2 separate regions of the Homo sapiens genome follow, and region 2 is linked to region 1. The links are contacts of gene promoters, found by promoter capture Hi-C in human tissues and cell types (Jung and others, 2019). All regions are on one chromosome and are shown on one strand. The core of a region is centred on a gene start or on the middle of the fragment in contact, and the rest is flanking DNA. Distances in the headings are between cores, read along the strand shown. Region 1 holds the start of ABHD12 (abhydrolase domain containing 12, lysophospholipase). Region 2 overlaps PYGB (glycogen phosphorylase B).

Region 1 (7,789 bases), core at 1,943-4,442:
CAACAAGAAAACCCTATGTGGCAGCTGAATTAAGTGGACAGAAGTGAGGCAAAGTGGAGGCAGGAGACCAGTTAGGCTATTCAAATAATGGAGGTGAGAGATAACAGCAGTTTGGCCCAGGGTGGGGACCATGGAGGCGGTAAAATTTAATGGTTAAATTCTCATAGATTTTGAAAGCACAGCTGACAAGGCTTGGTGATAGACATGCTATAGCACAAGAAAGGAGAAGTCAAGGATGACCCCAGAATTGTGGCCCCAGGAACTGCAATAGAATTACCAGAGAAGGTCATGGATGGAGTTGGGGGTGGGAGAAGAGTTGGGAGCTCAGCATTGAAGTGGTGCTTGTCAGAAATCAGAGCAGAAATGATGAGGAGCCTAAGGGTCAAGGAGAGGTGTGGACCAATGATAAAAATGTGGGCATCACTAGCATGGGCTCAACCACCAAGAGTTGAGCACTGTGTGGGCAGGGCCTCGTGCCTGTAAGAAAGATTCAATACACGGTACAGATTTTTCCTCTCCAGCTCTTCCTTCCTTGTTTTTTTTTTTTTTTTTTTTTGGTTTGTTTGTTTGGTTTTTTTGAGTCGGAGTCTCACTCTGTCGCCCAGGATGGAGTGCAGTGGTGCGATCTCCGCTCACTGCAAGCTCCGCCTCCCGGGTTCACGCCATTCTCCTGCTTCAGCCTCCCAAGTAGCTGGGACTACAGGCGCCCGCCACCATGCCCGGCTAATTTTTTATATTGTTATTAGAGAGACGGGGTGTGAAACCGTGTTAGCCAGGATGGTCATGATCTCCTGACCTTGTGATCCGCCCGCCTCGGCCTCCCAATGTGCTGGGATTACAGGCATGAGCCACCGCGCCTGGCTGTTTTTTTTTTGTTGTTGTTGTTTTTTTAATTGAAGTGAGCGATAGAGTCAAAACCTCTTTTTTTTTTTTTACGTTTTAGTTATTTCCTAGATTTCCAATCTCTCCAGGATGTGTTACTACATCACTATAAAGAATTTATAATTTACATTCCATAGTATGTTTGTTTGTTTATTTTGAGATGGAGTCCTGCTCTGTCACCCAGGCTAGAGTGCAGTGGTGCAATCTCGGCTCACTGCAACCTCCGAATCCCAGCATCCCGGGTTCAAGCAATTCTCCTGCCTCAGCCTCCCAAGTAGATGGGATTACAGGCGTGCGCCACCACACCCAGCTAATTTTTTTGTTTGTTTGTTTTTGAGAGGAGTCTCCCTCTGTCGCCAGGCTGGAGTGCAGTGGCACAATTTCGGCTCACCACAACCTCCGACTCCCTGGTTCAAGCGATTCTCCTGCCTCAGCTTCCCAAGTAGCTGGGAATACAGGCACGCGCCACCATGCCCAGCTAATTTTTTTTTTTTTTTTTGAGACAGAAGTTTGCTTTTGTCCCCAAGACTGGGGTGCAATGGTGTGATCTCAGCTCACTGCAACCTCCGCCTCCCAAGTTCAAGCGATTCTCCTGCCTCAGCCTCCCAATTAGCTGGGATTATAGGGTTGTGCCACCATACCTGGCTAATTTTTGTGTTTTTAGTAGAGACGGGGTTTCACTACATTGGCCAGGATAGCCTCAATCTCCTGACCTCGTGATCCGCCCGCCTCGGCCTCCCAAAGTGCTGGGCTCACAGGCGTGAGACACCTCGCCCAGCCTTTTTTTTTTTTTTTTTTTTAAACAGAGTCTTGCTCTGTCACCCAGGCTTGTGCCACCACACCCGGCTAATTTTTGTATTTTTAGTAGAGACGGAGTTTCACCATGCTGGCCAGGCTGATCTGGCCTCCATCTCCTGTGCTTAAATGATCCACCCACCTCCGCCTCCCAAAGTGCTGAGATTACAGGCATGAGCCACTGAGCTCGGCCCATAATGTTTTTAAAAAGTATATCTGGAGATATTGACACAATTATGAATGCAGGCTGTAACACTTAGTAATATGGTCAATAAATTATTTTGCAATTTCAAAGTATCATTACAAAACTAATTTAAAAAGCAGCCGGGCGCGGTGGCTCATGCCTGTAATCCCAGCACTTTGGGAGGCCGAGGCGGGCGGATCACGGGATCGAGAGATCGAGACCATCCTGGCTACACAGTGAAACCCTGTCTCTACTAAAAATACAAAAAAATTAGCCGGGCATGGTAGCCGGCGCCTGTAGTCCCAGCTACTTGGGAGGCTGAGGCAGGAGACTGGCGTGAACCTGGGAGGCGGAGTTTGCAGTGAGCCGAGATCGCGCCACTGCACTCCAGCCTGGGCGAGAGCGAGACTCCGTCTCAAAAAAAAAAAAAAAAAAAAAGAAAAAACTAATATAAAAAGCTGTTGAATTTCTAAACGCATTTCCAATTGACCTTTATCAATTGCCAATAGTTTTCAAAGTGACAAATGCTGAAATTTCTAACGTTACTTTGGAATAAGCAAATATCTCTCTTTGTTATAGATCATCTGTAAAACTAATGCCATATTGAAGAAAGCCAAAGTTATAAAACTAAATTTGTGAAACAGCCCTTTATTCTTTCCTTTTCTCTTTCTAGGATGGGTTGAATTAGTACTAAATTTGGGTTTCATAAGGGCGAATTTATCTTTGAAATGGATTTTCCTCCCATCAGGTAGTCTTAATTGCTTTATAAAAATCTAAAATCTAACACAGGTTTTTAAAAAGTAAATTTTTCAAGCAGTTCATTTCCTGATGTTCGGCCCAAAAGTAAACACTGAGTATATACATTTACTTCAAATTAAAAACTGACGACCGGAAAGCATACTTTTAAAGGTAATGTCCTTGTGGAAAAAGAATTAAGAATCACGAGAACGGAACTGCTATTTGCTACCTCTGGTTTTCCGTTCACAGAAGCACGAGGAGCCCAGCGCTGCGGCTCTGCCTCGCTGGGCCACCCCTTTCGGGCACGACCGGGAGCGGGTGCTCCTCACACCGAGCGCCCGGGCGAGCACAGCTGCAGCCTGCGGATGGAGCCCAGAGCCCTGCCCTGCAGATGACGCGCCGCTGCAGCTTCGCCCACCCTCCCACAAAATGGCTGCGGGTGGCGCCAGGGATGCTGGGCGCGCGCTCCTTGGAACTAGAGAGGAGGTGGCCGGGGCGGGGCCGGGGGAGGGGGGTAGGGCAGAGCCGGCGGGAGCCCGGCGCTGATTGGCCGGCCTGGCTGGCGGGCCCCCGCCGCTGGTTCGTAGCCGGCGCAGCGGCCTGGGCTGGGATGTGAGGAGCGGCGGGTTCCGGGCTCCGGGCTCTGGGTGGCGGCGGCTGTGAGCGGCGGCACTGCGGCGCAGGCCAGCGGGCGCCGTCGGCGGCTGGCCCTGTCGGCCGCGGGATGAGGAAGCGGACCGAGCCCGTCGCCTTGGAGCATGAGCGCTGCGCCGCCGCGGGCTCGTCCTCCTCCGGCTCGGCCGCCGCGGCGCTGGACGCCGACTGCCGCCTGAAGCAGAACCTACGCCTGACGGGCCCGGCGGCGGCTGAGCCGCGCTGCGCAGCCGACGCGGGAATGAAGCGGGCGCTGGGCAGGTGAGGCTTCGCGCGGAGCGGGGGGGGGGGGGGGGCCGGTCCCTCACTTTGCGCAGGTGCGTCCCGCAGGGGGCCGCGGTACCTCCCAGCCCCTCCCAGAGTGGCCGTCCGCCCGATCCGCGGCCGCCCCCGTCCGCGCCTGTGTCCCGCATTTGGCCCGCGGCAGCCCCACCCCCGCTCCCTTCCCCAGGCACCGCGGCGGGAGCGCCCTGCCCTGCCGCTGACCCCCTGTGTCCTGCTCCGGCCCTCTCGCCAGGCACTCCTGGCCTAGCCTTGCACCCCGACCCTTTCCCGGGGAAGCCGGGGGGACCCTTACGCTGGGGGCTTGGCGCCGCCCGAAGTCATGACCCCGCGTGGGAGAGCAGGGTAGGGGGTGGGGAGTCCTTGGAAGATCCCTGGACGCCAGGCACAGCAGAGGCGGGAGGCAGAGGGGCCGGCGCCAGACCCTGAGAGCGCTGGGGCCCACTCGGACCTCCTCCTCCTGCTCTGCATCAGGCCCCACACCGAGCGCCCGGGCGGGCGCCCCTCGGGCTGGGCTGCGTGCGCGGAGCCTTACTGGCGCCTTGGGCCCTCGGCGGCTCTCCCCGGTAACTAGGGTCGGGGGCGTGCGTCGCTCAGAACTCGGGGACCTTTGGGGAAGGGCTCAGTGGGCGGCGGGGTGCTAGGGGAAGGAGGGACTCGGAGCATCGCAGCCGTCGGAGGGAAACCTGCCCTTCGCTCTGCTGGTGATGGTTCGTGGTACTTGAAATCTGTCCGCACAAGTTCGCCTCCTTGGGAATCATCTCGCAGTCCTGAGTCGTTTGGTTATTGGCGTTCAATAACCTTTGGGTTATTGGGTAGAAGATGAATGCGTTTATATAAAGCCACTTTCAAAACTGAGATGGGAACGTGTTTCATAGGGACAGATTTCTCCTCCCATCTGCTGGTTTCCTAATTATCTGGCTGTTGTAGAACGTAGCATTCCTGACAGCTTTGAAGCCTTGCTACTTCGTGGTGGTTTGAAGAAGTTACTATATGATGATCTCAGGCGTTGTAGCAGAGGCACTTCTTTTTTGACCATCTGGAATGCCCTTAGTTGACGCTGGCCACTTGAGTGTAAAATATGCGTATCGCTCCTAAGGAAAAGTAGAATTTCAACTTCATTGCTTAAAAAAATCATGAAATTAAACTATAGACACTTCTAAGTCGATGGTTTGACAGAAGGGCGGAGACTGATAGTTTTGTGTCTTTATGTGTAAAATTATGTAGCATCTGATCAATATCTTTTGTGAAACTAATCTGTTCTCTTTGCTATGGAAAGATTTATCTGCATTAAAAACTCATGATTTAACTTTAATACAATTTTATTAACAGACATGGCATAACGCTTAGATAAATTGGAAAATTCTTCCTTCGAAAAAATCAAATTGCCGGGCGCGGTGGCTCACGCCTGTAATGCCAGCACTCTGGGAGACCGAGGCGGGCAGATTATCAGAGGTCAGGAGTTCGAGACCAGCTTGACCAACATGGAGAAACCCCGTCTGTACTAAAAATACAAAATTAGCCGGGCGTGGTGGCGCATATGCCTGTAATCCCAGCTACTCGGGAGGCTGAGGCGGGAGAATCGCTTGAATCTGGGAGGCGGAGGTTGCGGTGAGCCAAGATCTCGCCGAACCGAGATCGCACCAGTGCACTCCAGCCTGGACAACAAGAACGGAACTCCGTCTCAAAAAAAAAAAAAAAAAAGAAAAAATCAAATTGTTTTACACAACGTTTGGGGAAACAGCGGCGACCTGGCACCTTCTTGAAGAATGTACTGTATTAAAATTACCCGATTAATTTTTATTTTCGTGTCAGGACAAAGAGAGACATTCCAGTGGTGTCCATATCCTTTGGATAAGCAAAAGGCTGTTAGGGGTAAAAAGCAAAACAAAGGGAAAGAAGACCAAATTTGTTAGGTTGTCTTCCTTCCCAGCTGGCTGTCTCAGACATCCTTGAGCTTTCTTCTCTTCCTCGCTCAGGCTCTGCGCCACCATCACCTCCTCCTCACTGAGGCCTTCTTAGACCAGCCCACTCCTGTCGACCTTGTTATCACTCGAGATTGTAATTTTTGCTCGTGTGCCTCCCCCGCAACCAGAATGGAAGCGCCATGAGAACAGGAGCTTTGTTTTCTCCACTTAAGTATCTCCAGTACCTGGCACGTAGTAGGTAGCAGAAAATACTTGTTGAATGAACAAATATCCATAGAACAGATATCCATTGCGCCACAGAGCCGGCTCGTTTGTGTCTTTTATGATCCTTCTTTGGATCCTTCCGCACATTTTTTAAACTCTTTATTGTCGACATACGTGGAAGTAGAGAAGACAATCTAATGAGCCTTCTTCATGTGTCCATCACTTAAAAGTTTTCAGTGTTTAGCCAATTTTGAATCATCCATCCCTCTTCTCTTTTTTTTTGTAGGATGAAGGATTGGATTTTTTTTTTTTTTTTTTTTTGAGAAGGAGTCTCGCTTTGTCGCCCAGGCTGGAGTGCAGTGGCAATCTCGGCTCACTGCAACCTCCACCTCCCAGGTTCAAGCAATTCTCCTGCCCCAGCCTCCTGAGTAGCTGGGATTACAGGCGCCCGTCACCGTGCCTGGCTAACTTTTGTAGTTTTAGTAGAGACGGGGTTTCACCATGTTGGCCAGGCTGGTCTCGAACTCGTGACCTCGTGATCCACCCACCTCGGCCTCCCAAATTGCTGGGATTACAGGCGTGAGCCACAGCGCCCGGCCTGGAATATTTTTAAACAATTTTTTTTTTAAGAAAGTTCCGTCACCCAGGCTGGAGCACAGTGGCATGATCATGGCCCACTGCAGCCCAGACCTCCTGGGCTCAGGCGATCCTCCCATATCGATGCTGGGTGTATGCCACCACTCCTGGTTAATTTTTTTTTTTTTTTTTTAATAGAGATGAAGTCTCACTATGTTGCCCCCAGGCTGGTCTTGAATTTCTGGCTTCAAGCGATCCTTCTTCCTGGCCTCCCAAAGTGTTAGGTATGAAATACCGTGCCAGGCCTAAATTCTCCTGCCTCAGCCTCCCGAGAAGGTGGGATTACAGGCATGTGCCACCACACATGGCTAATTTTTGTATTTTTTGTAGAGATGGGGTTTCACCATGTTGGCCAGACTGGTCTCCAACTCGTGACTTCAAGTGATCTCCCTGTCACGGCCTCCCAAAGTGTTGGGATTACAGGTGTGAGCCACCATGTCTGACCTCTTTTTCTTTTCTGATTGCATTGTATTTCTAGAACAAAGTTAAATAATAGGGATGACACTGAGTAACTTGTTTCATTCCTGACTTTAATGAGAATGCTGTTAGTGTTTTTGCCATTTAAGTGCCATGCTGGGGTGTGTTGCTAATGTTGTGGGGAGCTTTTTGTTTTTGTTCCTGCTCCCTCACTGATGTTTTTAAAATAAAAAATGGTGATTGAGTTTTCTCAAATGCCAGTGTACATCTGTGGAATGATCATAGAGATTTTCTTCTTTTATCTGTTAACATAATGAGTTATAGTAATGGATTTATATTATTGAATCATCATTGTATTCCTGGGATAAACTCTCTTATTGTATAGCCAGATTCTATTTATTCATTTATTTTTTATTTTTATTTTTTGAGGCGGGGTTTCACTCTGTTGCCCAGGCTGGAGTGCAGTGGCACGATCTCGGGTCACTGCAACTTCTGCCTCCCAGGTTCAAGCAATTCTCTGGCCTCAGCCTCCCGGGTAGCTGGGATTACAGGCACCTGCCACCATGCCCGGCTAATTTTTGTATTTTTAATGGAGACGGGATTTTGCCATGTTGACCAGGCTGGACTCGACCTACTGACCTCAGATAATCTGCCTGCCTCAGCCTCCCAAAATGCTGGGATTATAAGGCGTGAGCCACCGCACCTGGCCTATTTATTAATATTTTATTTTGAAATTTTACATCATGAGGCCGGGCTCGGTGGCTCACGCCTGTAATCCCAGCACTTTGGGAGGCCGAGGCAGGCTGATCACGAGGTCAGGAGATCGAGACCATCCTGGCTGACGGGTGAAACCCCGTCTCTACTAAAAAATACAAAAAAAATTAGCCAGGCGTGGTGGCGGGCGCCTGTAGTCCCAGCTACTCAGGAGGCTGAGGTAGGAGAATGGCATGAATCCGGGAGGTGGAGCTTGCAGCGAGCCCAGATTGCACCACTGCACTCCAGCCTGGGCGACAGAGCAAGACTCCATCTCAAAAAAAAAAAAAGAAAGAAAAAGAAATTTTACATCATT
Region 2 (7,276 bases), core at 503-3,002, 140 kb after region 1:
TATAATCCCAGCACTTTGGGAGGCTGAGGCAGGTATATCACTTGAGGTCAGGAGCTCAAGACCAGCCTGGCCAACATGATGAAACCCCGTCTCTACTAAAAATACAAAACTAGCTGGGCGTGGTGGTGCACACCTGTAATCCCACCTATTCGGAAGGCTGAGGCAGGAGAATCGCCTGAACCCGGGAGGCGGAGGTTGCAGTGAGTAGAGATCGCGCCACTGCACTCCAGCCTGGGCAACAAGAGCAAAACTCCACCTCAAAAAAAAAAAAAAGAGTTGGGCGGCTGCTTTCACCAAGATGAAGAGCCTCATTCTACAGGCAGATCTGGTCTGAAACCGGTCCCCTCCTGTCCCCAGGAAAGCACAGCAACTCTCCTTTTGTGTATTCGATTCTGTCGGTGCCAGCATGCCTCAGACCAGCCGCCCTCTACTGGTTCCTACATGGGCACAGAGTGACTCACAGGGCAGAGTGTCCCTCCCTGCCACCCAGGCACTATGGACAGAGCTGGCCCTGATAAGACACAGGAACACAGGCCACTGAGCCAGCCAGAGGCCAGTGGGCACCACGTTCCACCAGCCAGGCCTTGGAGCGGGGGCTCCCAGCCCCTCCAGACACAAAGGGGCCACCTCCCTGGGCTGGACCTGCTGGCTCCTGCTGGTGAGCTGAGCAGTCTCAGATACCATCCAGGGGAACCGAGGTCCTGTGGGAGGAGAGATGTTGAGGGGCCTCCCACCTGCCAGACGCTGAGGTTGGTCTTTGGTTTCCTTGACAGTGTCACAGTGTCCACTCCACTGTGTCTGAGGGGGCTTCTGGGGAGTTGCTCACAGAGCAATCTGATAATCCACTACTGTATCTGCTGTAAGGATGTGAGGATTAGCTAGCACATCTCTCAAGCTCCCAGCCTGTGATGTCACACGGTACTTTCTTAATGAATTAACTGCCAGGGAAACTTGGCTTCCCATGAACAGTGGGCAGGCTTCTCAACGTGGATCGTGGATTTCCTTCTCACTCCAGTACCTACGACTCAAACACAGGTCTGTTTGCTCAATTTTGAAAATGTCAAATGTAAAAGAATTATAGAACTTTAGAACTTATGGGGATCTTAAGAGATCACTTGGTTCTGTAGTAAACAAATTCCTTCTACACTCCATGACACACATTGCCACAAGTCACTGTCTCCCGCCTTCTATGCAATTAAGCTCCACAAAAAGTCTATTCAGTACTAATCCAGAGCCAGAAAGCGATGGGAGCCTTCTCCTTATCACTGACAGAGCCTAATCAACTTACACTAAGTGATCTGGACCGTGTCAAACTATATTTATACCTAGTGAGCTACCAGTCATCGTTTTTAAACACTACTTTAATCTTTCATTTTAACTGTTTGTAGGCCGAGAAATGCCACTTACCTATACCTAAAATTACATGTCATTCCTACTCAAGGTACTGTTGAAGACACTGTTAACCGAACTTCTCTTACTGTCCAATTACCTTTCTAAATCTGTGTTCACTTCTCTTCCCTTCACCGTATCCTAAGAATGCCATTCTGCATGGGTGAGAAAAAGCCAGCTCCTATCTCCTGCGGTTATTTGCTGCATGTCTTAGGATGCTTTGAATTTCCAAATGGCTTAAAGCTTTGATCCGTTTAATAATAATAATAATAAAAGATATAATCTGAAAAGACTTCTAAAGTTCTCCCAATTATTTATTTGTATTTTTTACAATTGTATTATTGCATTTTATTTGTATTTATTAAGCAGGACAGCTGGTGACACTGAAAAGATTTGCAGACAACAGCACTGTGTTGATTAAAATGTCCAGAGTTTAACTGCTCTACTGTGGGTGTGTAGGAGAGCTTCCCTGTTTTTCCGGAGTACTCACTGCCGTTTTTGGGGGTGAAGGGGCAACAAGGCTATGACTCAGTTTTTTTTTTTTTTTTTGAGACAGAGTCTCGCTCCGTTGCCCAGGCTGGAATGCAGTGGCGTGATCTCAGCTCACTGCAACCTGCTCCTCCCAGGTTCAAGCAATCCTCCTGCCTCAGTCCCCCAAGTACCTGGGACTACAGGCGCCCACCACCATGCCTGGCTAATTTTTGTATTTTTAGTAAAGAAGGGGTTTCACCTTGTTGGTCAGGCTGGTTCTTACTTTCAAATGATTCGGAGAAAAATGAACTTACAGCGACAAAATGACCTAACAAGTGTGTTGCAATGTTTAACATCTGGGGAATCCGGATGAAGCGTCAACAGGAATTACAAGAAATCTCTGTATTATTCTTGCAACTTTTTAAGGGTCTGAAATCACATAAAGTTTAAAAGGAAATATGGCTGAGATGTGGAGGTGAGGTCGGTTACCTTATTTTATTTTATTTTATTTTATTTTATTTTATTTAGGCAGAGTTGCCCAGGCTGGAGTGCAATGGCGCAGTCTTGGCTCCCTGGTTCAAGCAATTCTCCTGTCTCAGCCTCCCGAATAGCTGGGACTGCAGATGTCCACCACCACGCCCGGCTAATTTTTGTATTTTTAATAGAGACCAGGTTTCACCATATTGGTCAGGCTGGTCTCGAACTTTTGACCTCAGGTGATCCACCTGCCTCAGCCTCCCAAAGTGCTGGGATTACAGGTGTGAGTCACCACGCCCGGCCATATTTTATAAAGCCACCACGGCCCCTGTGGATTAGTCAGGGTTCTCCAGAGACACAGAACAGTAAGGTATGTGTAGAGAGAGACAGATTTAAGAAATTGGCTCAAGTGATTCTGAAGTGCAAGGCCACAACCTACAGAGTGGGGTGGGCCAGCAGGCTGGAGACCCAGGCAAGCTGCAGCTCTGGTGCAAGGTAGCTGGTGGCAGGGTTTGTTCTGCAAGGCCTTCCCCCATGGGAGGCTGTGAAACTGTGATGTAATGAGATATACTTATTTGTTCTTCCTGGCCTGTGCTCCTAACACCCTTGTAATTTCCTAAGTGATAAGAGCAATAAAAATGAAAGAAGTGTCTTTTGTTATTCATAACAAGTCCCTTTCAACCACGCCTGATGTGGTCACCAAAAGGTGACTTTTGGCAAGCCCCTCAGGGCAGAGGCTGGCTGCCAGGGGAACCAGCTCTAATTAGAGGGTTGGAAGTTTCAGGCCCACCCCTCCCGCCAGCCCCAACCTCCAGTGAAGGGAGAGGGGCTAAAGGCTGAGCTCATCACCAATGGCCAATAATCACACTAGGTAACTGCGGCCTCCATAAAATCCCCAACTGAAGGGGATGGAAGAGCTTCCTTCCAGTTCAGTGAATCCTGGAGGTGCTGGGACAGTGGCACCTGCAGAGGGAATGGAAGCCCCTGCACCCTCCCTCAGACCTGCCCTCTGCATATCTTCTATCTGGCTGTTCCTGGGTTGTATTCCTTGTAAGTAATTGGTAAACGCAAGTGAAGTGTTTCCCTGAGTTTCATGAGCCATTCTGGCAAATCATCAAACCTGAGGAGGCTGTCGGTCAGAGGTCAGAAGGGAGGTCCTGATGTGCAACTGACATCTGGGGTGGAGAAGTCTTGTGGGACTGAGCCTTTAGCCTGTGGGATCCGAGGCTACATCTAGGTAGACAGCATCAGAACGGAACTGAATTGTAAGATGCTCAGTCAGTGTGGGAAACACCACCCCCCGACCCCCCCAGAGGGACATCCACGTTACTATCTAGGCACAACAGCCAAGTTGACACATAAAACCAGCCACCACAGCCTGCAAGGGCAGAGGCCAGGCTGTCTTCTGCAGAAAATGAAGGCACACACTGTAGGCTTCTCCATCTGCTAAAATGACAGCTGAGGCCTACCTTCCAAGTGGCTAGCTGTCAGCAACACAAAACAGCACCCACCATCAGCTACTGGTCAGAGAAAATGACTTTGAGCGATCTGCTGTCAGGGAAGCCTGCCCAGGAGATGCAAGCTCAACTTCACACATAAAAGTGGAAATACATCAGAAAAATTGGGAGTGTTAGGATTCCGGAGGCTGGTACCACAACTGACTAATTAAAACAAATCCCAGAAGTGGGGATCACAGAGCAGAAGGGTCTGCAAAACACTTCTCTAGATCATCTTCTTTAACTCCTGGGTCCAGCCAAACCAAAAGATTAATCGTATTTCATTGTGTTTATCTCATTAGGAATATTTAGGACAGCAGTGTGGGCCCCAAGGTAGAGCTGCTTTTCCTTAATCTGTGTTGTAGTCATGCCAGGAGCTTATGGGAAGAGTCTCAAAAACTGATTGTTACATCCACTGCAGGGGTGCTGCAGGTCAGTGGCTCAGCACATCGACAACACAGCTTCACAAAGGCCCACAGAATAAACCGTGCAACTGTCCTTTCAGGATGTTATAGAAGGGATCCCGTGACTCTCATAACTGGGCATGGGCTGCTTTCACTGCCAGGATCCTGGTCTGTGTTTTGTGTCCTGACCCTCACTGTCCCACCCCAACCCTCACTCTGAGGCCTTCTAATGTGAACCTTTTGTGCTGTATCTAGCATAAGCATCCTCAAATTCTCTCTGGATAGAGATGGAATGTCAATTCAATATGAAATAGAAACATTTTAACTCTAACATTTCAGAATGGCAACAGACTTCGGAAACATCACCAGCTTGATTCCCCTCATTTTAAAGATGAGAAAACTGAGGCCAATAATGGCAAAGAAATCCGCCCAAGCCCACAGTTGCACAGACCGAATGGAAAGGCCAGGATGAAAAGGAGCGTGGAATCACGCACACCCTTTCTTCTCCATGCAGCGCAATCCCAGGCTCTGCAGCTTCAGGTTGGACTCTCCTTGCCACCTTGCCACCACTTCAGAGAATCCATTAAATGTCTTCATGACCAACCGCCACCTCTTGCCAAGCACAAAGCTCTCCATGTTAGCCAGATGTTTTGACGTGCTGATTTGCCAAGCATGGCAAAGCTTGACAAATCTTCCTCTGAACACCCCAACTTCTACTCTTTCGCTATGTACCACAAATAAAGTGCTAAGAGTTATGAAACAATAGGTTCAGTATAATGTTATTTTATGTATTAAAAACAAGTTTCTGCCAATACGGAAAAAACAATGTAGAACACAAAATATTTACAGCACAAAGTGGGCGATAGAAGTGGGTTACAGGATTACAGTTAATTTTTTTCCTTCTGGCTTATCTATATTTTCTAATTTTTCCTCCAGTAATAATTTTTCCTTCAGGACTTGCATAATTTAAAAAAAGACAAAAATAACAATAAAAGCGTTCTATTTAGGAGCTCTAGAGTGTCACATTACCACAGTCTGCAGTGTGCCGGTGAATGTCTGAGGTCATTTCTGGCTGAGGGGGAGGCACAGCAGTTATTTTCTTGGGAGCACACCTCCTCTCATTGGCTCTGGTGGGACTGGTTGCTGGTCCATCACCAGCAAGCATGTAACTTTTCCAAAGAAAGGATTGCAAGCTTATTTTCATCATGAATTAGCGAAAGAAGCAGTTAAATCCCAATTTTCCATGTCCTTCCTATTCAGAATAGGCACACAGCTTATTTACACACTGTGAGATCTAAAAGTTTACAACTTTACGACTTACAGACTGTGCGGTTTAAGAGAAAGGTTTCCACCCAGAGCCACCACACGTAGACAATCAAAAGAGATCTCACGGAGGATCAAAAAACCTGTTTTGTTGCAGGGACTATCTTGTTCATGAAGGTCATTTCCGTAATCCCTGAGCCCATCGCTGGCCTCTCCAGGATGTGATTATACATAAATACTCCAATGGGCACCCTAAGGTGTAGAGCTGAGTCCTGGTCCAGCTCCAAGGAAATGCCCTTGAATGTGAAGGCAGAGCTATGTCCTTGCCATCCGCCACTTAGACAATAAAAATGATGTTGCGGGTCGGGTGCGTTGGCTCACGCCTGTAACTCCTGCACTTTGGGAGGCCGAGGCGGGCGGATCACGAGGTCAGGAGTTTGAGACCAGCCTGGCCAACATGGTGAAACCCCGTCTCTACTAAAGATACAAAAAATTAGCCGGGCGTGGTGGTAGGCGCCTGTAATCCCAGCTACTTGGGAGGCTAAGGCAGGAGAATTGCTTGAACCCGGGAGGCGGAGGTTGCACTGAGCCGAGATCGCGCCACTGCACTCTAGCTTCACGCTACAGGGCAAGACTCAGAATTAAAAAAAAAAAAAAAATGGTGCTGTGCATCAGAACTCTCCCAACAGCAGGGAATTCTGGGGGAGCCACTGCTTCTTGGCTGCTTTTCCTGGCAAAGTCATCCCAAGCCCTTGTTATAACCTGTTTTGGCCATTCGTTGCCACTTCTATGTTTTGCATACCAAATATGAAGAGCCCCAGTTGGTATTCTAACAAATCTGTCCCTTTTACCATCTCCATTTTAGAAAAAAGAATGTCCCAGAATAAGTTTGGAAAAGCAGTCAATCTCTTAGCAATTACCGTATTAAACATATCTTAATGCCCTACAAAAATATTCTAAAATACCATCCATAAAGCAAGTGCTCACTGCCTAGATGTACACTGCAAGTAAAATCTTTGCCAAGTGGCTTCAGGTCTGGAAGTGTGTCTTTTCCTCACCAGTTCTCCCTCTACGTTAGTGTAGTAGAAAGACAATTCTCCATGGTCAAGAGTTTAAAAGCAAACGACAACAACAAAAAACTGGCAACAGGGGGCTGTGCAAGACTACCATGTACCTATCAAACTGAAAACTACCATCCTATCCATTGACCTGCAAAGCTGTTTATCAGTGAAAAAGTTACAAATGTTTACGAATGAAACAGAAAATCTAAAAAACTGTATGTGCATTATACTTTTTAAAAATGTGTATGTATATTTAGGAATACCAAAAACACAGCAAGAACACAGGCCCATAGTAAACATGGTTAAGAGTAACGGGGACAATCAGTGACTTTGTTTCACTACTCAAACAAATTTTTGCAAGATATAAAAAGTAACAATTAGTAAGATGATCTCTGTCAACTTCAACCCAAGCAAATTTCTCCAAGGGAGGTGTGGGAACCTCTAAGACAGAGCCTTCTTCGAGGGCTCCATCTCCATCTCTGAGCTTCGTACCCCTCCCTGCGTGAAGCAGGCATCTTCAGTGATTTTCTTCTAAGCAGCGTACACAAAAAAAAGTCTCACAATTCCCTGCAGATTACCGAGCTCACCCCATTCCAACCCACAAGGCTGCCCAGGCCTGGTTCCAGTCCCATTTTCTCCCACAGGCTGCTGCAGGAAAACAAAGAGTGGCTGGAGGCAGGGGCGGGGAGCACCGGCTCTGCAGCCAGCGCGGAAG

Evidence for each region. Contacts are between HindIII fragments. The study calls those that stand out against the background at their distance.
Region 2: a fragment that was not itself captured here is called in contact with the fragment with the promoter of ABHD12 in region 1 in 1 of the 25 tissues and cell types used here (lymphoblastoid cells).

The regions. Positions count from the first base shown.
Region 1 is chr20:25,386,238-25,394,026 of GRCh38, reverse strand. It overlaps ABHD12 (abhydrolase domain containing 12, lysophospholipase), which reads left to right and starts at 3,192. Exons shown (of 13, transcript NM_001042472.3): 1 at 3,192-3,514. The coding sequence starts at 3,324. RefSeq lists silencers at 3,063-3,482, 3,523-3,572, 3,613-3,772, 3,943-4,102. The HindIII fragment of the contact is 14,157 bases long and covers 1-7,789 here.
Region 2 is chr20:25,248,734-25,256,009 of GRCh38, reverse strand. All of the region lies in intron 1 of PYGB (glycogen phosphorylase B), which reads right to left. Among named protein-coding and RNA genes, the nearest start is that of PYGB, 4.3 kb to the right of the region's middle. The HindIII fragment of the contact is 6,845 bases long and covers 1-5,174 here.